Linked DNA regions of Homo sapiens: regions 2, 3, 4, 5 and 6 are each linked to region 1. Evidence: promoter capture Hi-C in 16 types of primary human blood cells and fetal thymus (Javierre and others, 2016). All regions are on one chromosome and are shown on one strand. The core of a region is centred on a gene start or on the middle of the fragment in contact, and the rest is flanking DNA. Distances in the headings are between cores, read along the strand shown. Region 1 holds the start of CYP46A1 (cytochrome P450 family 46 subfamily A member 1). Region 2 overlaps EML1 (EMAP like 1). Region 3 overlaps EML1 (EMAP like 1). Region 4 overlaps CCNK (cyclin K). Region 5 overlaps EML1 (EMAP like 1). Region 6 overlaps EML1 (EMAP like 1).

The links. Contacts are between HindIII fragments. The CHiCAGO score rates a contact against its expected background, and 5 or more counts as called.
Region 2: a contact is called between a fragment that was not itself captured here and the fragment with the promoter of CYP46A1 in region 1, in 1 of 17 cell types (endothelial precursors). The highest score is 7.1, in endothelial precursors.
Region 3: a contact is called between a fragment that was not itself captured here and the fragment with the promoter of CYP46A1 in region 1, in 1 of 17 cell types (endothelial precursors). The highest score is 19.2, in endothelial precursors.
Region 4: a contact is called between a fragment that was not itself captured here and the fragment with the promoter of CYP46A1 in region 1, in 2 of 17 cell types (non-activated CD4 T cells and activated CD4 T cells). The highest score is 5.2, in non-activated CD4 T cells.
Region 5: a fragment that was not itself captured here is called in contact with the fragment with the promoter of CYP46A1 in region 1 in 1 of 17 cell types (endothelial precursors); the score reaches 10.0 in endothelial precursors.
Region 6: a fragment that was not itself captured here is called in contact with the fragment with the promoter of CYP46A1 in region 1 in 1 of 17 cell types (endothelial precursors); the score reaches 5.1 in endothelial precursors.

What each region holds. Positions count from the first base shown.
Region 1 is chr14:99,682,383-99,686,907 of GRCh38, forward strand. It overlaps CYP46A1 (cytochrome P450 family 46 subfamily A member 1), which reads left to right and starts at 1,916. Exons shown (of 15, transcript NM_006668.2): 1 at 1,916-2,154. The coding sequence starts at 2,036. RefSeq lists an enhancer at 411-480 and a silencer at 1,721-2,300. The HindIII fragment of the contact is 4,802 bases long and covers 1-2,736 here.
Region 2 is chr14:99,924,510-99,929,034 of GRCh38, forward strand. The region is part of intron 17 of EML1 (EMAP like 1); the gene reads left to right. Among named protein-coding and RNA genes, the nearest start is that of EML1, 130 kb to the left of the region's middle. The HindIII fragment of the contact is 7,367 bases long and covers 1-4,525 here.
Region 3 is chr14:99,900,960-99,905,484 of GRCh38, forward strand. It overlaps EML1 (EMAP like 1), which reads left to right. Exons shown (of 22, transcript NM_004434.3): 9 at 1-80. Among named protein-coding and RNA genes, the nearest start is that of EML1, 110 kb to the left of the region's middle. The HindIII fragment of the contact is 2,391 bases long and covers 1,194-3,584 here.
Region 4 is chr14:99,484,378-99,488,902 of GRCh38, forward strand. All of the region lies in intron 1 of CCNK (cyclin K), which reads left to right. It also overlaps a transcript of SETD3 not described here. Among named protein-coding and RNA genes, the nearest start is that of CCNK, 5.2 kb to the left of the region's middle. The HindIII fragment of the contact is 378 bases long and covers 2,198-2,575 here.
Region 5 is chr14:99,867,048-99,871,572 of GRCh38, forward strand. The region is part of intron 3 of EML1 (EMAP like 1); the gene reads left to right. Among named protein-coding and RNA genes, the nearest start is that of EML1, 76 kb to the left of the region's middle. The HindIII fragment of the contact is 2,655 bases long and covers 865-3,519 here.
Region 6 is chr14:99,839,409-99,843,933 of GRCh38, forward strand. All of the region lies in intron 1 of EML1 (EMAP like 1), which reads left to right. Among named protein-coding and RNA genes, the nearest start is that of EML1, 48 kb to the left of the region's middle. The HindIII fragment of the contact is 1,734 bases long and covers 1,129-2,862 here.

The DNA.
Region 1 (4,525 bases), core at 666-3,165:
CTCGGCCTCCCAAAGTGCTGGGATTACAGGCGTGAGCCACTGCGCCCGGCCTCTAAAACTTTTAAATACATTTTCACTCCTGCTCTAAAACTTGCCTCTCACTCTGCCTTACGCCCCTCAGTCGAATTCTTTCTTCTGAGGAGGCAAGAACTGAGGCTGCTGCAGACCCATATGGATTTGCTGTTGCTAACAGTACCATTGTTCCAGGGGTCTGGAGAGACAAGGCAAGAGAAAGTCCTCTTCAGACAGTGCGATGCACTGTGTAATCTCAGGGAGCCGTTCCACAAACTGGATACTAAATGTGATGCCGTCACATTTCTTTTCTAGCTAACCACCCCAACCCACCTTCCAGTGCGCAGGAATCCACACCCTCCTTCTTGCAGCCTCATCCTCCCTCCAAATTGCCCTCAAGCCCCGGAGCTTTCACAGCCCACAGGGGACCTGGTGGCTCCGTTCCACACCTCACCCCAGCAGGGCCAGCCTGAGTTACCCTGTGGGCCTGCGGCTGCCTGTCACCGCCGCCACACGGGGGCGCCATAGCAAGCCAACATCCCCGAGTCCAACTGGGCGGCCGGGCCAGGCGCCGGGGGGATGGATGCTCTGCTGCCCACCTGTCCAGGCTGCGGTGGCCCCGAGGGCAGAAGTCCCGCCTCCTCCGTGCTGGGCACGGCTCTTAAGACTTGGCCGTCTCCGTCGCCCCTCAGCCCACACCCCTAACAGCCATGTCCCATGTCCCTAACTATACCTGGGAAGGCGGTACCAAGGTCCCCTTCGTTTTCCAACCCCCAACCTCTCCAGGACTGGCTCAAGCGTGGGGCAGGGGCATTGCCTCTTCTCAGAAACCCAGCAGCATCTACACTCCCTGGGCCTCTACCTCCAGCCCGGGGGACCTTTACCTGGGCTAGGAGTGGGCACACCTGGCCTTCCCCTGCCACGACTTTCACGCTGGGTGGTCCCTCGGGATAGGAATTGGGAACTAAAACGCCCAGAATTGGCCTCATCTTCATACGGGATGGGCAAGGAGACGCGGGTTACGACAGAGGGGGAAGCCCTGGTCATTATTTCGAAAATACCTTCTCCTCCGCTACCCCCGCCTCCCCGGCACATTTCCCGCTTTCCCTGGAGGGCGGACCCAGATTTTCATCCCTCCAACTCCAACTCCTTCGGGCCTGAGCCAGCGCCTCAGATGGGGCTTCGCCTGGTCTAGGAGGGTCCGCAGGCCCCCGAGTCTCTGGGAGAACAGCCTCCGGCCACGCCGTGCGCTCTCGGTCGCAGACACAGGCGTCCCTGGGTCCCGCAGGATCCTGCCACCAGCCCGCGGGCCCCGCTGGCGGACCACGGGCGCTAGGCGTGGACTGTCCGGGCGGAGGAGGCGCCCCGGGGCAACTGGAGAACAACTTTGGGGGTCTGGGGTTCCAAGGAGAAGTTTGGGAACAGTCGGCGTTATGCGGACTTTTGCAGGCTGGGATGGGGTTTCCGGGCAGGTTTGGGGGAAAAAGGAAGGGGCCTAAGACCGCGCGCGGAAAGATGCCGTTATTTGGAGGCGCCGAAGCGGGCGGAGCCAGCCAGCAGGACTTCGCGCCGCCGCCGGGCCAGAGCGCTGAGGATCGGCGTTGCCAGGGACAACGCGTTCTGGGCGGAGCTGCTGCTGGGGCGGACCTGAGTCTGAAGAGGTGGGGGCGGAGCCTGGGGGGCTGAGCCAGAAGCGGAGTTGTGATTGGTGAAGACCACATGCTCGGGGTGGGGCCTGGGCTGGGGCGGTGTGGAGGTTGGGGCGGAGCTCTGGGGGGCGGGGCGGGGCGGGGGAGGGCCCGGAGCGCCGGAGCCGGAGGCGGAGACGTGGTTGGCGGGGACTGTGCGCCCTGGGAGGGGTCGGAGTCGGCGGGGGCGGAGCCGAGCGGGCGGGGAGGGTGCTGGGTCGCGCCTGGCCTGGGGCCGAGGCGGCGCGCGGCGCTGACAGCTGAGTCGGCTCGCGGCCTCCCGGCCCCCTCGGCGCCCGGCCCGACCCTGGCCTGGCCTGCCCTGCCCCGGAGCCATGAGCCCCGGGCTGCTGCTGCTCGGCAGCGCCGTCCTGCTCGCCTTCGGCCTCTGCTGCACCTTCGTGCACCGCGCTCGCAGCCGCTACGAGCACATCCCCGGGCCGCCGCGGCCCAGGTGAGCGGGGCTGGGGGCGGGGCCTGGCTGGGGTGCTGGGACTGGGGGCCTGGGGACAGCGTCTAAGCCGGCGTCCAGGCCGGGGGTCCGGCCTCGCCTAGTGCGCGCGGCCGCTGGGAGTCGGCGGCCCCGAGAGGGGCGCTAACTATTCTTAGTAACAAATTACTCACAGCCGCAGCAGCTGCTGGGCGCCCACCGCGCACAGCTGGGCCCCACAAACGTGATGGCAGCCACAGCCCTTTCAGGTAGGCGCTATTGTTAACCCATCGTTCAGACGAGGAGACTGAGGCGCTCAGAGGCGAAGTCACCTGCCCAAGGTCACACGGTTGGTAAGCCTAGATTTAAGCCCAGGTCAGCCTGCCTCCAAAGTGGGCGCTGTTAACTTTGGGACTTGGACAGGGTCAGCCTGGATTGGAGCACGCTGTACTTCAGTCATGTTTCCTTTTGCTTGTATTTCTGTTCTGGGACACCCCATTTGTCTTCTCCTTAGTACTTACAATTGCATTCTTGGTCCCCACCCCCACGCAACTTACACCCCCCTCAACTTGCCAACCCCCCCCCACCCCCAGCTTAGCTTTGTGAAGCTTAAATTAAATGTGTCATTTCCCTGCTCCAAGGGCTTCCCATCACTTGACAACTAAATGCAGTTCTAAATTAAGTCGGCTGCATGGCCCGCGAGGCCCCTGCCGAGCACTCAGAACCCACTCTGCAGCTTGCTCTTTCCTCTTGCTTTCTCACTACTGCCCCCAGCCTTTCTTCTCCCAGCCTCCCCCTCCCCCCGCCCCCCCCGCAGCTTCCCTCCCCCCGGGTCCTTTTCTCAAGCCTGGGCCTGGCGGGCTTCTTCCTCTGCTTGTCTCAAACAGGCCTTGCCCAGCACCTTGTGTAAAGACCACCCAGCCCCAGACTTCTCAGGGGCCATCACCTCTGAGGTTACCTTCTTTCCACCTGTTGACTGTCTGTTCACCTGTTGACTGTCTCCCCCTCTAGAATGTGAGCCCCGGGAGGACAGGGACACTCTGTGTTCGCTTGTGTATCCCCAGTGCCTGGCGTGTTGCAGATCTCAATAAATATTTGTTGAATGAATGAATAAACAATTGTATTAGACACACTTTTTAAAATCTCAGGACATGAATATTCTGGAAGGCACCCATCTCCAGCACAAGCCAGATGTACTGGCGTTAGAAGCCTGAATCTCTGCTTGATGGGTTCAGGAAAGATCTCTGTGGCTGGTGACATAGGGAGGCACCTGTTCTCCCTGCTGGCTCTCTGCCCTTCTGGTGCTCTCTCTCTCTCTCCTTGCTTAGCTCCTCTGCCTTCTACTTTACCTGGATGCTTCTTCCCCCAGCCTTCCAGGTTTGGCTTCAATGCTAACTCCTCAGGGAGGTTCCTCCTGCTCCCCCAAAAATATTATGTTCATTTTATAAACCCTGAAATCACTGTAATTTTCCTTTACAGCATAATGTTAATTGGGCAATTATTTGTGCAAGTTTTTCCTAAGTGTCTCTTTTCCATGGGCCCCCTGTCTGTCTCAGTCACTGCTGCATCTCCGACATGTAGCAGCACATTGTACATGCATAGTAGACACTCTATGAATAGCAATTCAAGGTTGAATGGTGGAAATCTCCCGTGAGTTCCGTGGTGGACACTATCACCCTCTCAAGTTTTCAGAGAAGCCATCAGCACTTAGAATTGAATGAGTTTGGTGCTTGTTCTGATAAGTTTCATCGTTACTTGGTCTTCTCATAAACTCAAATGACCTGTTCTGGTCTCTGTGTCTTGAGAAAGCAGAATTTAAATCATCTTAAAAAAAATTGAAATGTAACTTGCATTCCACAAAATGTATTCTTTAGTGTATGATTCAGTGGTTTTTGGTACATTCACAGCACTGTGCAGCCATCGCCACCGATTTCAGAACTGTTTTGTCACCCCAGAAAGAAACCCCGTACCCATTAGCCATCACTCCTCATTTTCTCCCACCCCTCACAGCCCTGGCAACCATGAATCTGCTTTCTGTCTCTGTGGATTTGCCTGTTCTGGACATTTCATATAAATGGAATCATACAATATGTGGCCTTTTGTGTCTGGCTTCTTTCACTTAGTATAATGTTTCAAAAGTTCATTCATGTAGTAGCATGTATCCTTATTGCTTTCCTTCTTATGGCTAAATTCTTCCCAAATCTTATACCACAGAGTCTACATGTGACCTGAGTGTGTGGGGTGCGGAGGGAGCAGTGGGAGGAAGATGAATATAATCATGATTGGGCTATTTATTCTAAGGAGGTGAACTGAACAATGCATATATAAAAAGATTTTGGATTAAAAATTGGTTAGTGGTCAAATATAAAACTGCACTAAATGAAAGTTCTGGAAA
Region 2 (4,525 bases), core at 1,201-3,700, 240 kb after region 1:
TAACAATATATTGTAATAAGAGTTATGTGAATATGGTTTCTCTTTCAGAATACTGTATTATACGTAATATTTGCAGACCACAATTGACCACAGGTTACTGAAACCACAGAAAGTTGTTTCAGTCTTATTATATTATATTAATATCACTACATTTTATTAAGTTTCTTCTGTTTTTCTGAGGAGAAAAAGCATTCAGTCTTTCATCATGAGGGATAAAGATGCCCTTTATCATAGTGAGAAAGTTCCCTTCTATTTCTAATTTGTTTGGAGGTTTTAGCATGAATGGGGTTGGAGTTTATCAGATGCTTTTTCTGCATCTGTTGGGATTATTATGTGGGTTTCATCCTTCATCTTATTTTATTAATATCACTACATTTTATTAATTTTCAGATGTTGAACCAACTTCACATTCCTGTGGTAAATTCCCCTTAATCATGGTGTATAATCCCTTTTACATGTGTTTGCTAGGATTCTATTAAGGATTTTTGCCTCCATGTTTCTAACAGATATTGGTGTATAGTTTTCTTTTCTTGTGGCATCTTTGTCTGTCTCAGTTATGAGAGTACTACCGGCCTTACAGAGCAAATTAGGAAGTGTTCTCTCCTCTGTTTTCTGAAAGAGTTTGTGAAAAGTTGGTGTTATATTAAATATTTGACAGAATGTATGTGAATTTGGTGAAACTACCTGGGCCTTTCTTTGTGGGAAGGTTTTTAATTACTAATTCAATTTCTTTACTTCTTACAAGTCTATTCAGATTTCTTTTTTCTTTTTTTTTTTTTTTTGCTCTGTCACCTGGGCTGGTGTACACTAGCACAAACACGGCACACTGCAGCCCTGACCTCCTGGGTTCAAGTGATTCTGCCACCTCAGCCTCCAAGTAGCTGGGACTGCAGGCAGGCACCACCACACCCAGCTAATTTTTTTTAGAGACAGGGTATTCCTATGTCTCTAAACTGAAACTCCTGGGCTCAAGCAGTCTTCCTGCCTCAGCCTCCCAAAGTGGGATTACAGGCAGGAGCCACCAAATTTCTCTTTTCAACTCTATTTTTGCTTCATGTAGTTTGAATGAATGATTGGGCAGAGGTTATGCACAAATAACTTAAGCCAGTAAGGCTCCGTCCTCTGCCAGTGGCTCTGTGGGCAGGTTGAAGGGCATGTTCAAAGTTCAGGCCGTTTCCATGTCGGCCTGGCTTTTACTTTCCACTCACCCTTTTACATCTCCTCTATGCACATGTACAGATTCAGATTGGCCGGAAGGGTGTCTGAATAGGCAGGATCCTTTCCTGCCTCCACTGTGCATGCACCAGCCTCCCGTCAGCCAGGAATGCGCTCACCCATCCAATAACCGTAACCTCAAGCCAGTAGAAACCTTGGCCCTCCCCACCCAACTGCCCTAGAGATGGTCACTTCCATCCCAGTGCTACTATTGCCCAGGGCTCCATATGGAGTGAGCCCTTTTACCACAGCCGCGTGGTCCTCAGAGCCTGTTCTTCCCTGCCAGGACCGCTGTGCTGGCCCAGCTGCTGCGAAGGAGTGAGGGCAGCCCAGGGAAGAACATGATGGATTCACCCTGTTTTTACCTGAAGTTGAGAAGATTTTCAAATAAACAACACTTCTCAGATTTTCATGTCTTGTTCAATTTACAGAGTCTGGAAATGGTTGTTTTTGTCAGTTTTATAGAATTTCATAATTGCTTTATGGGGAGAGGATTGGCCAACCTTCTCATTTGGCCACAGCTAGAAGAACTGCCCTCTTATTTTTTGTGTTTTTTGGGGTTTTTTTTTTCTTTTTTTGAGATGGAGTCTTGCACTGTTGTTCAGGCTGGAGTGCAGTGGCATGATTTCAGCTCACTGTAACCTCTGCCTCCCAGATTCAAGCAATTCTCCTGCCTCGGCCTCCTGAGTAGCTGGAACTACAGGCTTACGCCACCACACCTGGCTAATTTTTGTATTTTTAGTAGAGACAGGGTTTTGCCAGATTGGCCAGGCTGGTCTCAAGCTCCTAGCCTCAAGTGATCTGCCCGCCTCGGCCTCCCAAAGTGCTGCGATTATAGGCATAAGCCACTGCCCCTGGCAGCTCTTATTTTTTTTAATGACTGTTTTTTATTGTTAGAGATGAGGTCTTGCTATGTTGCAGGCTGGAGTGCAGTGGGTACTCACAGGTGTGATCACAGTACACTACAGCCTCAGCCCCTTGAATAGGTGGGACTACAGGCGTGTGCCACTGCACCCAGCTCTGCCTTTTTTTTTTTTTAGACAGAGCCTCACTCTGTCACCCAGGTTGGAGTGCAGTGGCGTGATCTCAGCTCACTGCAACCTCTATCCCTCAAGCTCAAGCAATCCTCCCACCTCAGCCTCCCGAGTAGCTGGGACTACAGGCATGCACCACCATACCTGGCTAATTTTTTGTATTTTTAGTAGAGATGAGGTTTTGCCATGTTGCCCAGGCTGGTCTTGAACTCCTGAGCTCAAGCAATTCACCCCTGCCCTTGGCCTTCCAAAGTGCTGGGATTACAGGCGTGAGCCACAGCACAGACCTGCCCTCTTATTTTTAATATAACCACAGTATCGTTGTCTCCTCCCCAACCCAAATCAGCATTGATGTCTTAATATCATCAGATGGCCAGTTATATGTTCCAGTTTTCAATTTACTTTTTTTTAACAATTTGTTTAAACCAGGAAGCAAAAAAAAGCCCACACAATGGTAATTGGTTGATATGACTTACTAGTTTCTGTTAATCCATAGGTGTTCTCTCTCTCCCTCTATTACAGTAAATTTGTTGATGAAACTGGCTCGTTTGTCCTGTAGCATTTTCCACACTGGATTTTGCTGAATGCATCTTTGTGGTGTTGTCTTCACGTGTTCCTCTGTCCCCTGTATTTCCCATAAAGTGATTGCTGGATATCGAGGCTTGGTCATATTCAAGCTGTATATGTGTTGCTGTATTTTTCCTTTAGGAGGCACATAATGGGTTTTTCTCACTTTTTGTGACATTAGTAGCTGTTGTTACCCAGTGCCTAGATCCATAAAGGTTGCCAACTATTGATTTCCAATGTTAGCTTTTCTTCTTCATTTATTAGATATAGTACTTCTATGAAGAAAAACTTTCCTTCATCTACAATTTTGGTACCCAGTGGTAGAGTTCATATAGGAAAGTCAGAATTAATGCTTGATTTCATTCACTTTATTTTCCAGTTTCTGAGATAATACATTTGCTTTCTGCTCCTCTAACAGTCACCGATCAGTGGTGGTGATAGTAGTGGTGGTGGTAGTGGTGGTGGTATTGGTGGTGGGGGGGGTGGGGGGGTGGTGGTGGTGGTGGTATTGGTGGTGGTGATGGTGGTGGTGGTAGTGGTAGTAGTGGTGGCGGTGGTGGTGGTGGTGGTGGTGGTGGTGGTGGTGGTATTGGTGGTGGTGGTGATGGTGGTGATGGTGGTGGTGGTGGAGGTGGTGGTGGTGGTGATGGTGGTGGTGGTGGTGATGGTGGTGGTGGTGGAGGTGGTGGTGGTGGTGGTGGTGGTGGTGGTGGTGGTGATGGTGATGGTGGTGGTGGTGGTGGTGGTGGTGGTGGTGATGGTGATGGTGGTGGTGGTGGAGGTGGTGGTGGTGGTGGAGGTGGTGGTGGTGGTGGTGGTGGTGGTGGTGGTGATGGTGGTGGTGGTGGAGGTGGTGGTGGTGGTGGTGGTGGTGGTGGTGGTGATGGTGATGGTGGTGGTGGTGGTGGTGGTGGTGGTGGTGGGTAGTGGTGTAGTTTTGGTGCCATTATGGATTGAAGTTTATTTGCTGTGTTCCTGTCTGTTATATTAGGTGGAAGTTACTCTAGTTGGCTCCTGGGTCCTTTTGACGTGACCTCAGGAGCCTTTAGTACTTGTTCTCTGGCATAACAAGTTGTTCCAGGATCCTTGTATACATTTCTTACCTATAGCCCTTTCTCTCAGGAGGCCCTCCTTCCTTTTTCATCTGAAGGGAGGAGATCACAATATGGGTGTTAGGAGTGCTTGTTGCCACAGGGTAGGGGATTGTCTTGCCTTTTCATTATATGATTATGTTGTGGGAAATACTGTTTCTTTCATGCACAGGCCATTTGGCTATGCTGACACTCTTGGAAACTGGAGTTTTGGTTCTGGGAAATACGTGGCTGACTCTGAGCTGCTGGTCTCTGTAGGGATCTTCTATTTTATAACCTTATTGACAGCGTCAACTCTGCCTCACAGTGGGACGTGTCCTCGAGCTTTAGAAGATCTGATAGAGCATCTCTTTTGGATGTTTTTTCGTTGTCTCTGAACCACGTTCATAACTTCTCACCCTAAACAGACAACTGCTCAGCCCCCTTGGCAGCCTTTTGTCCATGTTGAGAAGGAGCTTGACTTGGAATGCCTTTCATTCATAACCTCCTCAGTATCACATTTCTTTCTGTTAATTTAGCCAGTGTTCTGCATCTTATCTTGTGTTTCTCACCATTTTCTCAGTTATTTTGAACGTCTGCTGAAGGCACGAGGGCCTCATCTGCAGCCTCTTTCCTAGA
Region 3 (4,525 bases), core at 1,139-3,638, 220 kb after region 1:
CTGTGACATTGAATACTCTCCACGTCATTGGAATAGGTTTTTTTGACCGAGCAGTCACCTGTATTGCATTCTCAAAATCTGTAAGTATGTGCCCTGTGGATATTGCTGTCTTCTTCCACAGGAAGTAGAGAATCAACTCAGGGTTGAAGAGGGGGAGTTGACACACTCGATACCTGCCTGGGTGTATGTACAGATTTGGACTCTGAAACATTCCTGCTTCCCAGAACCCCTCAGTCAGAGGTCATATGCATGTCTCATCAGGGACACACACTTCCTTCCAATCAGACATCTCCAGCCACATGGGTTTGGTGATGAAAACAGGCCCCCAGAGATATCGTCCTCACTTTCCTTAAGGCAGTTTATGTGCTCTGGCCTTGAATTTCACCTGCTTCTTTCAAGGGTGGCTCCAGCGTGTCTGTCTCTGCCATCCTGCTACTGGAAAGGGGTCCCGATCCAGACCCCAAGGGAGAGTTCTTGGATCTCTTGTAAGAATTCAAGGCAAGTCCATAGAGTAAAGTGAAAGCAAGTTTATTAGGAAAGTAAAACACTAAAAGAATGTCTACTCTATAGAGCAGCCCTGAGGTCTGCTGGTTGCCCATTTTTATGACTATTTCTTGATGATATGCTAAACAAGGGGTGGATTATTCATGCCTCCCCTTTTTAGACCATATAGGGTAACTTCCTGATGCTGCCATGGCATTTGTAAACTGTCATGGTGCTGGTGGGAGTGTAGCAGTGAGGACAACCAGAGGTCACTCTTGTCGCCATCTTGGTTTTGGCGGGATTTAGCCGGCTTCTTTACTGCAAGCGGTTATATCAGCAAGGTTTTTATGACCTGTACCTTGTGCCAACCTCCATCTCATTCTGTGACCTAGAATGCCTAACCACCTGGGAATGCAGCCCAGTAGGTCTCAGCCTCATTTTCCCCAGCCCCTATTCAAGTTGCTCTGGTTCAAATGCCTCTGACATTTCTCCCCTCCCTTTTATAAGAGAATCCTTAATCCTAAGGGTTGTAAAGGGACAAAGATCCATCTTCTGTAACTTCTTCGGGCTGAATAGGGATGATGATATTCCTGCCTAACTATTAGGGTCTCTTGTATTTGGGGTAGAGAAGAGCTCAGTCAGAAGACGTCAGTATGGCAAGGTGATATCTGGAAGATTATTAAGTGTTCAACTTAAGAAAACATTGAGTAAGCTTATCCTGCATTCCTACACAAAGAGTGCAACAGCAATATATTCCACAACAGTAAAACAAAATAAACAAAATTATCCCAAGTAAACTAAGTAAGAAGGCTTTTTATTAACTGGGCAACTATTGGAACCAAGCTGATATGGGGTCGCTAGCTGATTCCAGTGTGTCCAGAATTGGAATACTGATCCAGATATTTACATTACCCATTGCTTTTATTTCTTCTGAGCCGCAGTCAGAGATCACTGGTTGGTTCACAGGAATAAGCAGGGTTAGTTTAAATAGCAGAAAAAACTTAAAAACGACTGATGAAACTAGAATCTAATGACAAATGTACCATAGTTCTTGAAACATAATTTCTGTCTCCAGTCTCCCATTTTTACTAAAGACAAACCATAACAGGACTGATTAGTTTGGAAAAATAAGCCTTAGTCTTGTATACTTGGCTTGATTATTTGTATAAAGTGCAGCAAGAATAATTATTTTTCACATAGGCTTTTTAAATTGGCTTTGATGGAACTCTGTTCCATAAGGAATCTCAGATAAGACCTTTTTTAAAGCCAAGCCCAGCCATAGGTTTATATTCTCAAATACCTATGGGTTGGGTAAATTCCTCTCCTCTTGGGGGGTCCCAAGATAACTTGGGGCTCCTGGGCCTGTGAGAAAGTGACATTCTTTACTTACCACAGATCAGGAACCCTGTACAGGGACTGTGGAGACAAGGTACAAGGCCAGTTTCCCCCAAGGGGCTTCTATTGACTCTACAATTCAATTTGATTCCTTAAAGGAAAGCATGCCATTCCTGTGAAAAAAATAACCAGTTTCTCCAGTTGTGTCCTGTTACAAACAAAAACAAATTCTTTACAATTATGCAATTAACTATATTGCCATAAATTAAGAATACTCACAAATAGTTTCTAAATTCTGGAGAGATCAGGTTGAGAGAAACAAATATGCTTCAAATTTTGTTCATAGCAGTATACTTTACTTAATTGTTAAAAGCTCTAAATAGCTCAAAAGAAAAGTTTTCTTGTCTTTGAAAAAAGCAAAGGATCAGCAACATTTTAAGCAAAGTCAAAAAAGATGATTTCAATCTTCTATTAGTTTGGTTCATGCAGTTAACTCCTGTTCTGCTTGATATTCAGGAACATTTCAGCTCCCCATGAGAGTCCTGAAAGTTTTTTCCTCTATTCTCATGTTACAACTTTGAAAGTAATCAGAAACTTGCATTCAAGAGCACCTGTTAAAGGCCTATATCTGATTATAAGCCACCTTTTAAATAGGACCAAAACAAGACAAGAATTGTCTGTGGATGACAGAAAGTCTTAGGACAGCCACAATTAAAGCCACAATTGACAAGGAAATTTGGTTACTCCTGGAGCATACAATAATTTAACATAACAAGTACAACTATTAATAACATACACTAAGTCATATCAGAATTATAGGAGTTTCACCTAATTTTGGAACACATGCCAGTAACATATTTATACAAATACAGCCCAAAGAAAGCCAATTTCCTATTTGACAATGCTTCCTGTATGACTTTTATACCAAATAAGCCAAATTTCACCTTTACATTAGTGTACTATTGATGTTAAATATTCTTAACAAAATCTCATAGATAAATCTATTCATTTTTTTTTTTTTTTTGAGACAGAGTCTCACTCTGTCACCCAGGCTAGAGGGCAGTGGCATGATTTCAGCTCACTGCAACCTCCACCTCCCGGGTTCAAGCAATTCTCCCACCTCACCTCCCTAGAAGCTAGGATTACAGGTGCACACCACCATGCCCAGCCATTTTTTTGTATTTTTAGTAGAGACGGGTTTCACTGTGTTGGCCATGCTGATCTCGAACTCCTGACCTCAAGTGATCCACCCGCCTCGGCCTCCCAAAGTGCTGGGGTTACAGGTGTGAGCCATCGTGCCTGGCCAATGTATTCAATTTTAATCACTGTGACCATAAGGTAAGATTTTTATAAACCTTTTATTAATCCTTTACAATTTGTGTTGAAAAGCAGATCATTGCTCAGAGAAAAACCTGTTGTGCTTTTATTCCAATGTTTAATTTACAGAAAAACTGATTAATACCCCTTTAACTTTAGCCAATATGTTCACACAGAATTTCTTTACAAGATTAATTTCTCTCAAACTTTCGACAACTTGCTTAAACTTTGAGCTTTATTCTATCTAATTTAAAACAATAATTTAACCTTTTAATCTAGGCAAAAAAAAATCCACATTTCCATGCCTTCTTATAATCTATTACCAAAAGACATTTCACTTTCTTTATACACCTTACATATAAAACAGTTTTTATTTCCCAAAAATTACTTAATTCATGTGAACTGAAAGGCATTACACTTTTTACTTTTCTTACAAAATATTTGATTTAAGCTTATTATTATTATTACACCAATTAATCAAAGCTCTTTCATATATAAACATCACACACATAATACATGTAAATACACAGACAGAAAATAAAGGACTCATTCCCTAAGCCAGGAATTGAACCCTGATCCCAGGCTGCCACTGTGATGGCAGAGACCAAGATAAAGTACTGCCACGTGTTACAAGGTCAAGCTCCCAAGCACACGAAACAAGATAAGAGAGAAACTTTATCCAGTTTTTTTTCAGGAACCTGCCACAAAATTTATAACTGACCAGTTTGCTGTGCTACTTTGAACAGTGGGCTTATAGGGTCCTAGGCCCACATTCTATCCTATGGTACCCCTCTTTATGACAGAATGATATAGAAGACAAATTTATAACACAAAGCACAACAGATTTTCTACAGCTTAAGATTACCCTCACAAATCCTTTTTTCCCATTAATCAAAACTTTACAGGAGATAAATAGTGATTTTTACCATTCATTCAGCCAGTTTGCAGAGAGAGAGAGAGAGAAAGGCCAGAAGTCTGACTGGTAAGAAATTCTTACCATTTTGCTGGCATGCCAGGCTTCTGGGTTCCCTTTCCCTGAGGCGGCCCTAGTGATCCAGCTGGCTGCACCACAGCCCTAGGGGCCAAGCCACATCATAAAGGAAAATTATCTTTTTCTGTCCTGGCCAGAGCAAAATATGTGTGACAAAACATAGATATTAGCCATTCAGCTCAGCACCCAGCACCCAAAATCAAACTGGCAGGGCTCAGACATGCCCCTGGTCGGCCCCATCGTTGTTAATCCAGCCTCCAACCAGGAGCTTCAACTTACGGTCTCTGGGCAAGATGGTGGCCCTGAGTAATAGAAAACATAAGAAAGGGAAAAAGGAGAGAGAGAAAAGCATTCCCTGTGGCAGGGCGGGGAAGGTGAAGAGCTCAGGGAGGCCAGAGA
Region 4 (4,525 bases), core at 1,137-3,636, 200 kb before region 1:
ACATCATATCTGTTTTGATTCCTAATATTTAGGGAGGACTTGAAACACTAAAAAAAAAGAAAAATCATGATGAGAAAAATGGTTAGATTTGTTTACCCTAGAGAAGAGAATGTAAAAATTGCTTTTACCTGTTTGAAAGACAATCAATAGATAAGGGAAATGTATTTTCAAGGCTTAGTTTAAGGACCCTGGTAGAAGTTAAAGAGTCGCTAAAAGGTAGATTTCATTCATGCATTATTTTATGCCATCTGTGTAGCAGATCTAGGGGATGAACAGGACAGATAAAAATCAATATAGGAATACAGGAATTATGTGAACACCAGTTATTGATACCCAGCAATGCCATAGGCTGTTTTGTAAACTAATGAGGTTTCATTGATAAGTGGCCAAATATTACTAAGAGGGGATTTCGATATTGGGTGAGATAATTGAGTGGTGACATTTACTATTGTTTCCATAATTCTAAATGTTGAAAATATATTTAGTCTTTTATGATGTAAAATGATATTTATGAAGCACATTCCTGAAAGGTGCTGCTAAAATGCCTTGACAGGTTGCTTGTTTATGGATTTTCATTTTGCAGAGTTCATAAATCTCAGTCATTTTCAGAGGAATCACAAGCTACTAATGAGAAAACTTACAACTTTAGGGTCTTGTGAAAAAATAATTGAAGAGTAATAGGGAACAGGTTTATAGACCTGAGGCAAAAACTTTTTCAGGGAGTTCTACGATTTTGAGGACTGTCTCTATTCTGTTTATGTCCATAATATTTTCACTACATTTCATGAATTGTTTATATTCTGCCTTGGAACCTAAAGGGACCAGGAGTTTGGCCAGTTACAGAAGGTAAAACAATTGAATATACTTACGATTTATCCGCTTGTGGACCGAGGTTCTTTTCCATTCCAGTTTCATCCCTACTGGGGTATTCCTAACACTGTTCCCCGTTCTGCCCCTTTCCCCTCAACAGATATCTTGGCATTATACTTCCTAGAGAATATGGAGGTACTCTTGAGATTTTTTAGTTACTTCCTCCCCCTTAAAAGATTATTTAAAAATATCTTTCTCAAACTTTTCCTTCCATTCTCAGGGGAAGAAAGAGCTTTCTTTCTAAGGTTAACTTTCTTGCTGTGCTTTTTATTATCCCTTGACCAGTTAGCCTCCCTTGTTCTGACTCCTCTAGTGATTCCTTTTTGTTTTTACTGGCTGCAGACATTTTTCATTCTCCTTTATGCTGAAAAATATATAAAAACCAAAACAATAACAAAACCTACTCCCTACTATTCCCTGTTACTCTCTTTGAGAACAGATGCCTCAAAAGAATAACCTATTTCCAGCCAGGCACGGTGGCTTATGCCTGTAATCCCAGCTACTCAGGAGGCTGAGGCAGGAGAATCACTTGAACCCTGGAGGCGGGAGGTTGCAGTGAGCACCACTGCATTCCAGCCTGGATGACAGAGGGAGACTCTGTCTCAAAAAATTAAAAAATGAATAAAAAAGAATAACCTATTTCCTAGTCTGTTCATTCTTTACCACCCCTTGCAGTTTCTACACCTTCTGCCCTATTGCACTTCTAAAAATGTTATTTTATTTATATGTGTATATATGTATTTTCTTGAAATATAATCCTATACCGTACAAATTACCCATTTAAACTGTACAAATCAGTCGTTTTTAGTATTTGCAGAGTCATGAAACCATCACAATTTTCAGTGTCTCTAATAAACAACTAATCACCAATTAAAGTAAACTTTCCTTAGTTCCTTGTCCTTTAACTTTTCTTTAGCATTTGTCACTGTTGACTACCATCTCTGGTTTAAAGCTGACATCCCATGGTTTGTTTTGCAACAAAGGATGCAAATTTCCCTACTTCTTGGACCAGTCTTTTTCCCTTTCTCTAATTTGGTGATTCTTAGTCTGCAAGTGGGTAAATCATAAGTGCATTCAAGTCTGTTTTACCTTCCTGTCACTGGGCAAACGCTCGCCTTTGGTGATTCTTCCTACTTGGTACAAGTTCACAGAGTTCTGTACCCAGACCCCTTCCTTCTTCACTCTCCATCCCTCCATCCGTCAACATGACTTTATAGTTATCACCTCTGTGTAGATGAACCCCAAGTAGATATGTTCTGTAGAGACTTCAACTGGCCTATTTATCTGTCTGATAGATATTTCCACAAAAGGATCTTAAAGTTCTTCAAGCTTAGTATTTATAGAGCCAAATTCTTTTCCTCCCTCCTTATCAAAACCAGCTTTTTCTCTTGTCTTATCCATTTGTCTTTTTAGTATCACCCTCTGTGTCAGTCAAACTTGAAATCATCTTTTTCCATTCTTTGCCTCATGGCCAATTATGACACACACACCCCTTGTTCCAGCTGCCATTGTGTGGAGACAGGTGTATTAGGCATTACTTGAACTGCTACTATAATCTCCTAACTCTTCCTCTTTCTGCATACCTCTAAACAGCCCTTACCTCATTATGTTCTCTCCCCTTACATGCGTTATTATTTGTGGCACTTAAGATTCCCTGACAAATATTCATATATTTCTTTCTTATTGTCTCTCCCACTAGAATGTAAGCTTCCTGGGGCAAAGACCTTACTTATCTTGTGCCCTGCCATGCCATTAAGGCCTGGCTCATAGTAAATGCTCAGGAAATATTTAAATGAAAAAGTACATGGAAAACTGTTAGGCGTATGTATATTAAAGTAGCAATTCCCAACTGTGAATAAATTGCTAAGATGTGCTAAGATATTGATTCCCTCAGCCAACTGTCCAGTTGCCTTCTGTTCTATAAGAATATATGTACATGTTTAACACTTATTAATAATCAAACACCAGAAACATTTACATGCCCAAACAGTAGAATGTATAGATAAAGTGTGTTGCATTCATAGGATATAACTGTACTGTACAGCAGACTTTCTCAGCTTTGGCACTATTGACATGTTGGACCAGATAATTTCTTGTCATGGGGGATTGTTCTGTGCACTGAGGACATTCAGCAACATTCCTGGCCTCTACCCACACTAGATGCCAGTGGCAACCCCCCAGTTAGGAAAACCAGAAGTGTCTTCAGACATTGCCAAATGTCCCCTGGGGGGCAAAATTGTCCCAGGTTTAAAAACCACTGCTCTGCGGCAGTGAGAATGAACAAATACTGCTTTATGCAACAACAGGAATGAATCCCATGAACTTAATATTGAGCAGAAGAAACCAAATGTAAAAGTGGTACTGTGTCATCGCACAGTCCTTCAAAAACAGGCAAAACAAATTGATGGAAATAGAGGTCAGAATAGTTATCTTTGGGAGGATAGTCACTAGGAAAGAACGAAGAGAGCTTCTGGAATGTTGGTACTGTTCTCTTTCTCAACTGAATAGTGTTAACACAGGTGTGTTTACTTTGTGAAAAACAATCAGCCATACACTTATAATTAGTTCACTTTTCTTTTTGTATGCTATAATTCAAATCACAGTGTTGTAATTTATGAAAGCAGTACCCACACATAAGCAAGTATTCCTTGGCTATCGAGGGATTGATGAAGATAAGGAGTCCTCCTGGTCTCCTATTCAGTCTCATCTGACTTTTTCCCCAACTTTTTATTGTATGAAAGAATAGTGCAATGACAACTTATTTACCTGTGGACACATGTTCGTTTTTTGCCATGTTTACTGTGTGGTTGTGTTTTAGCTGAACCATTTGAAAGTAGGTTGCAGACATCATGACACTTTACCCAAAATACTTCAGCCTTCATCTGCTAAGAATAAAGTCATTCTCCTGTGTAATCACAATATCATTATTACCCCCAAAGAAAATTAACTGACAGTAATTCCCTCCCTAATACCCTCTAATATACAATTTATACTTAAATTTTTCCAAATTGTTTGAAATTTCTTTTTTTTAAAAAAAAAAAAAAAGCAGGATCTAATCAAGGTTCACACATTGCATTTTGTTGTAGCCCTCTTTAGCCTTTTTAAATCTAAGACAGTCTCTCAAAATGTTTTTTCATAACACTGTTTTGAAGAGACCGGGTCAGTTGTTGAGTAGAGTGTCTCACCTTCTGGATGTGACTGATAGTTTCCATGTTGTGCTTTTTTCACTTACTCTTGTACCACCAGTATTTATTGTAAACTGGAAGTTCGGTCAAAAGTTTGCTTAAATTTAGGTTAAGCTTTTGGGGGACAAGAATACTACATAGGTAGGTGATATTTATTTCACATTGCATCACATCAGAAGCCATGTAATGTCAGGTTTTCACCCTATTAGTGATGTCAAGTGTGATCATTTTGTTAAGGATCAACTGTATTTTTTTTACAGTAGTTAATATCCATGCTAGCAAAGTCGCATTTATTATCAGTAGCATTTTATTATCAGTAGTTATCAGTGCTAGCAAAGTATTATTCTCTATATGTATTAATATTATGGACACTTGGATTGTATGTTCACTATTTTATGATCAACCACAGTTATTTTTCTTTTTGCTATTCAAATTACCTTGGATTAGTCCAGTGGGCACCCATCATGGTG
Region 5 (4,525 bases), core at 942-3,441, 180 kb after region 1:
CAAATAGGAAGTTTTTCAACCCTTACCCACCTCTCTCCCACCCTCCTTTTGGAGTCCCCAGTGTCTCTTATCCCCATCTTTATCATATTTTGTCTATACATTCATCCATCAGTGGCTATTCTGTACCATTTATCTGCACATCTGTCCTTATGGCCAATACCCTACCATCTTGATTACTATTGCTTTTTAGTATGTTTTAAAATCAGGAAATGGGAGGCCCCCAACTGTATTCTTCTTTTTCATGATTGTTTTGGCTATTTAGGGTCCCTTGATATTCCATATGAATTTTAGGATAGTTTTTTTCTATTTCTGCAAAAAAATGCCTTTGGGATTTTGATAGAGATTGCATTAAATCTGCATATCACTTTGAGTAGCATGGAGATTTTAGCAATATTAAGTCTTCCAATCCATAAACATAGGATGTCTTTCTCTTTTTTTGTATTTTCTTTTAGCAAAGTTTTGTAGTTCTCAGTGTATGAGTCTTCTAACTCCTTGGTTAAAGTTATTCCTAAGTATTTTATCCTTTTTGATGCTTCAGTAAATAGAATTAATTTCTTAACTTCCTTTTCAGCTTGGTCATTGTTATTATATAGAAATGCATCTGATTTTTGTGTGTTGGTTTTGTACCTGAAACTTTGTTGAAATTATGTATTAGTCCTCACAGTTTTCTTCTGGAATCTTTAGGGTTTTCTAAATATAAGATTCTGTCATCTGTAGACCGATAGTTTTACTTTGGATCCTTTCCTATTTGGATGCCTTTCATTTCTTTCTCTTGTCTGATTGCTCTGGGTAGGACTTTGAGTACTATGTTGAATAATAGTGGCAAGAGTGGGTATCTTGCCTTCTTCCTAATTTTAGAGGAAAAGCTTTCAGTCTTTTACCATTGAGTATTATTTGAGCTGTGGCCACTCAAATATGGCGTTTATTACATTGAGGTAGTTTCCTTCTATTCCTAGTTTGTTGTGTTTTTTTATCATGAAAAGGAGTTGAATTTTGTCAAATGCTTTTTCTGCATCAGTTGAAATGATCATGTGGTTTTTGTCCTTTATTCTGTGAATATTGTATCACATTGATTGATTTTTATGTGTTGAATCATTCTTGCATTCCAAATATAAATCCTAATTTGTCATGGTATATAATCCATTTAATGTGCTGTTGTTTTCAGTTTACTAGTATTTTGTTGAGGATTTTTTCATCAGCATTCATCAGGGATATTGGTCTATAGTTTTCTTTTCTTGTGTCTTTGTCTGGTTTTGGTATTAGAATAATGCTGGCCTCATGCAATGATTTGGAAGTGTTCCCTCCTCCTCAATTCTTTGGAAGAGTTTAAGGAGCATTGGAATTTATCCTTTTTTAAATGTTTGATAGAATTCTCCGCTGCAGCCATTGGGTCCTGGACTTTTCTTTGTTGGGAGGTTTTTGATTACTGCTTCAGTCTCCTTACTAGTTCTAGGTCTGTTCATATTTTTTGCTTCTTTATGATTCAGTCCTGGTGGGCTTTGTGTTTCTAGGACTTATCCATTTGCTCTAGGTCACCCAATTTGCTGGCATATGCTTGTTCACAGTGGTCTCTTATAGTCCTTCTCGTTTTTGTTATATCCGTTGTAATGTCCTTTCATTTCTAATTTTAGTTATTTAAATTTTCTGTCTTTCTTTGTTAGTCTAGCTAAGGGTTTTTCAATTTTGTTGATCTTTTTTAAAAAAAACAATTCTTGGTTTTGTTGATTTTTTTCCTATTGTTTTTCTATTCTCCACTTCATTTATCTCTGCTCTAATCTTTATTATTTCCTTCGCTCTGCCAACTTTTGGTTTTATCTTCTTCTTCTAGTTCCTTGAAGTATAAAGTTAGGAGGCTGATGTGAGATCTGTCTTCTTTTTATGAAAACTTTGATCACTATAGACTTCCCTCTTAGTACCCCTTTCACTGCCTCCTGTAAAGTTTTGGTATGTTGTGTTTTCATATGTCTCCGGATATTTTTAAAATTTCTTTGTGATTTCTTCTTTGACCATTGATTGTTTAAGAGTGAGTTGTTTAATTTAAAGATTGACTTTTTATTGTAGCAAATACATGCATGCCTCATTTTATTGTGTCTGGCTTTATTGTGCTTTAGAGATACCACATTTTTTTTACAAATTGGTGGTGGTGGCAACCCTGTGTTGAGTAAATCTATCAGCATCGTTTTTCCAACATGTACCCACTTCATGTCACATTTTGGTAATTCTTGCAACATTACAACTTTTTTGTTATCATTATGTCTGGTATGGTGATCAGTGATCTTTGGTGTTAATACTGTAATTGTTTTGGGGCACCAAAAACAGCACCCATAGAAGGTGGCAAACTTAATCCATAAATGTGGTTTGTGTCCTGACTCCTCTGCCCATTGTTTCCCCATCTCTTTCCCTCTCCATTGGCCTCCCTTTTCCCTGAGACACAACAATATTGAAATAAGGCCATTTAGTAACCCTATAATGGCCTCTAAGTGTTCAAGTGAAGGAAGAGTCATACATTTTTCACTTTAAATCAAAAGCTAGACATGATTCGGCTTAATGAGGAAGACATGTCAAAAGCCAGGATAGACCATCATGTGGTTTAGATGTTTGTCTCCTCCAAATTTCATGTTGAAGTGTGATCCCCACTGTTGGAGATGGGCCTGGGAGGAGGTGTTTGGTTCATCAGGGTAGATCCCTCATGAACGTATTGGTGCTGTCTTCACAATAAGTGAGTTCTTGCTCTGAGTTCACTCAAGGTCTGGTTGTTTAAAAGAGCGTGGCACCTCCTCCCCACTTGCTCCCTCTCTTGCCAAAGGACGTGCCTGCTCCTGTCTTGTCTTCTGCCATGATTGAAAACTCCCTGAGGCCGCACCAGAAGCTGAGCAAATGCCGGTGCCATGCTTCCTGGACAGCCTGCAGAACTGTGAGGCAATTAAACCTCTTTTCTTTATAAATTACCCAGCCTTGGGCATTCCTTTATAGCTGCACAAAACGGACTCATGCAGGCCTGTTGTTCCAAACAGTTAGCCAAGTTATAGATGCAAAGAAAAAGTTCTTGAAGGAAATTCGAAGTGCTACTCCAGTGAACACGTGAATGATAAAAGAAAAAAATAAAAAGCAACATCCTTATTCCTGATAGGGAGAAAGTTTGAGTGGTCAGAATCAAAGATCATACGAGGCACAACATTCCCTTAAGCCAAAGCCTAATACAGAGCAAGGCCTTAACTCTCTTCAATTTTATGAAATCTGAGAGAGGTGAGGAAGCTGTAGAAGAAAAGATTGAAGCCAGCAGAGGTTGGCTCATGAGGTTTAAGGGAAGATGCCCTCTCCATAACATAAAAGTGCAAGGTAAAGCAGCAAGTGCTATTGTAGAAGCTGCTACAGGTTATGCAGAAGACCTAGCTAGCTAAGATAACTGGTGAAAGCAGCTACACTAAACAACACATTTTCAATGTAGATGAAACAGCGTTACATTGGAGGAAGGTGCCATCTAGGGCTTTTATATGAGAAGTCAATACCTGACTTCAAAGCTTCAAAGGACAGACTGACTCTTGTTAGGGCCTGATGTGGCTGGTGACTTTAAATTGGAGCTAGTGTTCATTTATCATTCCAAAAATCCTAGGGCCCTTAAGAATGATGCTAAATCTCTGCCTGTGCTCTATAAATGGAAGAAAACCTAGATGACAGCACATCTGTTGTAGCAATATGATGTACTGAATATTCTTAGCCCATTGTTGAGGCCTACTGCTCGGAAGAAAAAGCTTCCTTTCCAAATATTACCATTCATTTACAGTGTACCTAGTCATCCAGGAGCTCTGATGGAGCGGAAATTAATGTTTTTATGCTGGCTCACACAACACGCATTCTGCAGCCCTTGGATCAAGGAGTAATTTCAACTGTCAAGTTTTATTATTTAGGAAATAACATTTTTTTTTTTTGAGACAGTCTTGCTCTGTCACCCAGGCTGGAGTGCAGTGGCGCGATTTTGGCTCACTGCAACCTCCGCCTCCCGGGTTCAAGTGATTCTCCTGCCTCAGCCTCCCAAGTAGCTGGGATTACAGGCGCACACCACCATATCCAGCTAATTTTTTTGTATTTTTAGTAGAGACAGGGTTTTGCCATGTTGGCTAAGATGATCTCGATCTCTTGACCTCATGATCTGCCCTCCTCGGCCTCTCAAAGTGCTGGGATTACAGGCGTGAGCCACCGCACCTGGCAAGGCATTTGCTGCCATTGATAGTGATTCCTCTAATAGATCTGGGCAATGTCAACTGAAAACCTTCTAGAAAGGATTCAACATTTTAAAAGTCTTTAAGAACATTTGTGGGGCCAAGCACAGTGGCTCACACCTGTAATCCCAGCACTTTGGGAAGTCGAGGCAGGAGGATCACTTGAGGCCAGGAGTTTGAGACTGCAGTGAGCCATGATTGTGCTACTGCACTCCAGCCTGGTCAACAGAGCGAGACCCTGTCTCAAAGGAAAAAAAAAAAAAAGAACATTTATGATTCATGGGAGGAGGCCAAAATCTCAACAT
Region 6 (4,525 bases), core at 746-3,245, 160 kb after region 1:
GATCGCATTGCCCGGCACTAGGTCTGCCCCAGAAGGATGCTCAATATCATTGTACAGAATTAAACTGAAAGTTTGTTTCCTTTAAACTCCATGTCATCCAAGGTAAACACAGTCACATGTTGCCTCTTAGGGTGATCTTGAGTATTTTTTCTCATCTCCATCACCACCATTATCCAACCTAAGGCTTGTAAAAGATCTTTATACCATTTCTTTCCAGATTCAAGAGGCTCTGCTGAAGTTCTTTTAATCAATATTCGATGACAAATTTTTATATCAGGCAAAGGTTGTTGTAGAGCTCTTTAAGATTCAATTATGTGAACATTAGTTCTTGAGCTTCATTTGAAACAGGTTTATTTTGAGGTGGGATCGATTCTTGTCATTTTCTATGAAGTGATGAACGTCAGAGCCGGAGCTCTTGTGGCAGGTCCAGCTTGGAGGTGAGCAGGACACAGGGTTCCTAACTGACCCAGATGATCCAAGGAGAACTGGGAGTCTGAGAACAGAAATAAAGCTGGAGCCCAGCCAGGAGTGGTACGCAGGGCTGCGAATCTGACAGCAAGGCCGAAATCCAGGCCCGCAAGTGGCAGAGCAATGACAGTTAATTGCTTCTCTGTACTGATTGCTTGTATGTTTCTTTTGCTATTGGATACTAATAGGATGACTCCGAATATGACAATAGAGTATAACTATTCCGTGAACAACGTATAATATGGAAAGTCTGCTTTATGTGAAATGTTTATCTGCAAATTATTGAGCAAAGGGTTATTATTTGTTACTGCTTAAATGATTGGTTTTAAACTACTAAATCTGGTAAGTTTTTTTTCTAAATAGCATTTGTGTAATATTTTGGAAAAGGCAAAATGATGTAAAAATTCTATGTGTATTTTACTTAGTACCACAGAAATCTCACTGGAATTAATACCTGTCATTTGGATGGAGAACTCATATGGTGAAAAGAGCCTAGGCTCACAGCTCACCCTCGGCTGGCCACATTCTAGCCGTGCAACCTTAGGCAAGGTGGACCAGAAACTCAGGTTCTCCTACTTCATCTGTGGCATGAGGGTGGCACCTCTGTGGGAGGGCGCTGTGTGGCGTGGGGACACTGGGCATGGGGACACTGCACCACAAAGCTTAGGCCCTGACATACAGCGGCTGGTGAATCAAGGGTGGCTATTATTGTTTTGGTGCTATCATTATCTTAAATAATTAAAGAAAATAAGAACATCTCACGATAAAGGGAACAGATTCTAAGTTAACCTTTTAAAATTACTAGGCCACTTTAACCTCCGGGAATAGCACTCAGATAACAATGTCTTAGTATTACTGGAAGATTTACAGAGTCAAGAGCCTGCTCTTATCCCTGGATACTGAGATAATCACATGAATGGAGAAAAAAGCATGCTTCTCTCACCTTTTAATAGAGTGAAACACATCATGTTACCGGAAACCCTTTTGTTCTGTTTTTTACAGTAAGAGAAAAAGTAATTAAACTTCAAAGTCAGATCTGTAAATAGCTACATGAGGACCTATGGTAAAAGCAGAGCTACAAGGTCTTCTTTTTGCTTCTGAAACTGCGGGTGATGTAGGGGCTGCCCAGACCCATGGCATCCCTTGAAACTCAGAAAGAAGCCAGTGCTTGGCTGGGTTCTCATGAGAGTCAAGTTGGAGCTGGAGGCTATGAGAGGTAACACTTGGCCTGTCCTTTTGCCACTGGTCGTGTGCTGCCAAGTGGGAGGGCTCGTGTGGCATCAAACCATGCCTTATCTTAAGGCTAACATCACATTTCCTCAACTTGGCCAGAGGTGCTGCAGAGAGAGACCTGCACAGTATTTGCAGAATTTGTTCAATAATTATTGTTAATCGTTGATTTCACTGAAGATCAATGTTTGCTTTTTGCTCTTATAAACAAAACAGGAATATTCATAACAATGGATTCTAGTAAGGCTCAAGTACCATTTGTGTTGAGTGTCTGTATGCCGTCATAGTATTAGAAGTTTCATACACGCTAACATTCATCTTCACAGGAACGTCAGAAGGCAGGTGGTATTAGGTCACATAGCTAATAGGGGACAGATTAGGAATTGGCTACTGCTCAGTTTGAATCCCAAATCAGTGCTCTCTCTCTTGTGCCTCTAAAGCCCCAGGACCCAGACAGGGCAGTATAGGTAACCCTTAGCAGACTACTCTCAACAGTGTTTGGCCCTTGACAAAATGCCACAAAGTTGGAACGTGTAGCCCTGAGAAGGGTTGTTGGCAGAGGCTGCAGAGTGGCTTTCAGAGTGGTTGGCCAGCTAAGACATCTGCATCAATGCCTCGCACCACTGGGTGTTCAGTTTTCCCTCTGATTAAATCTTGTCTACCCTGTGCCCATAGAGTCAGCATGTGCTGCGAGATCACAACGTGGGAGATCGTTCCCCAATACTGAGATAGAGACACCGCCCCATAGACGCAGTTACACACTGCCATGTGTAAACAGATCAGGAAAGGAGCAGGTGCCCAGCCCAACCGGAGCTCCAGTTCACACAAAAGTTTTAGAAAACCCAAGAGGTAAAAGTTTAGAGAATATTGTCTTCTTCAAACCTCCCTCTAACACTGTAAAGTGATAATAGACAAGAATGTAAAAACTTGGGGGAAAAAAAGCTAAAGCTCAATTATTGACACTGTTTTAATGACCTCCACAGATAGATTTGAGAGGTATAGGAGCAAAAATGACTTTAAAATAAATAAGTTGTTAAAGTTTTATTGGTGCTGCATTCCCAACCTGAGGTTTTCTTTGATGAAATTCAGATGAAGTTTCACATCTTGTGCTGTGGAATCCTATGAAATGCTTAGAGATTCAAATGGTTTGTGTTGGTTAAAGCAAGCTTTAGGCTTTGTTCTTCATTATGCTAATCAGTTTTTCCCCCAGCTTAATTGAAGTGTAAAGTCATTTGAACAACACTGGTCTTTTCTGTACACAAGAAGGTTAAGAACCTCAGACAGCTCATGCTGCTGCCAAGAAGTCTCCCAGTCGTATTCTTCAGATTAATTACCTGCAGAAACAGAAGTAAGAAAATCCATTACAGGTTAAAGCAATGATTTTGGCAGGATCTGAAAAGCACTAGGATTATGTCATGGGGAAAACTTCAGCAAATCTCACAAATGGGGGCTCTCCTAAGCAGATCTGACATTTCAGTTTTTAACCATTTGTATTTGAAGGCAAATATTGAGGTGGTGGGGGTTTTTATTAAAATATTAAAATCAAACTTTTTCCTATATAAATTCAGCAATATAATTTAAATATTCTGATTTGTGCAGTTTTATTAAAGCCACTGAGACCACAGTGATGCTAAAGTTTTTGAATGCAGGGAGCAGGCCAGTCTTGCCTTACTCTGTATGTTGTTTTATAATATTGATTTGAAAATGCAAGGTTATACTACAGAGACCAACTTTTTCCTCCTCAATCCTGTGCTGGCAGCCACAATAAATGTGCTTGAGTCCCAGCAGTGAGCGTGTGTGCCTTCTCTAGAAGCTGCTGTCTGCACGAACAACCCAAAAATGTCATAGAAATGCACAGTTCTAGGCTGGGTGTGGTGGCTCATGCCTGTGTAATCCCAGCACTTTGAGACGCTGAGGCAGGATAATCGCTTGAGGCTAGGAGTTCAAGACCAGCCTGTGCAACATAATGAGACCCCATCTCTATAAAAAGTTTAAAAATTACCTAGATGTGGTGGTGTGCATCTGTACTTCCAACTACTCGGGAGGCTGAGATAGGAGGATTGTTTGAGCCCAGGTCAAGGCTCCAGTGAGCTGTAATCGCACCACTGCACTCCAGCCTGGGCAACAGAGTGAGACACTATTGCTAAAGAAAAAAAATAAATGCATGAGTCTATGCTACAGATTCTTTCATGATTTAAAAAGCAAATATTATTAATTATGCACTAATTTCTAATTATTCAGTGCTAATTTGCATAACCGTTGAGACAGCACATAGGAATTTTGTTAAACTTGGATTTGTTTTGGTAATTTTTATTGGAAACAACAATAGTAACAATAACTTAATTACAGCTTATATTTATTTATACATGCACTATATGCAAAAAGTATTCTAAGTACTCTAAATGTGTCAACTCATTTAATATTATAACAACCCTATGAAATACTCTTGTTGCACCTGTTTTATACATAGAGGCAGATAGAGATTAAGTAGTTTGTCCTAGGTCATGTAGCTAGTAAGTGGCAGAGCTGGGATTTGAACCCAGGTAGCTTGACTCCATAGTCCGTGCTCTTAAAGACTGAAGTCTATGCCTCTTCTGCCAGTGCTGTCAACACTGACTTAGCTCTAGAATGTCTTCTCCTACCTTAGTAGAACTCTCCCTGCCTTCCGCCTGAGGCCAGAGACCTTCCCAGGTAGGTGTGTGTTGACCCAGCGTCCTACACAATGGTTGTTACACCAACCTGACTCTGCCTTCTTTTATTCACACATTAGAAGATTTCACTGAACTGTTTAATTACTCCTCAGAGGGAAGACAGATATAAAATACCT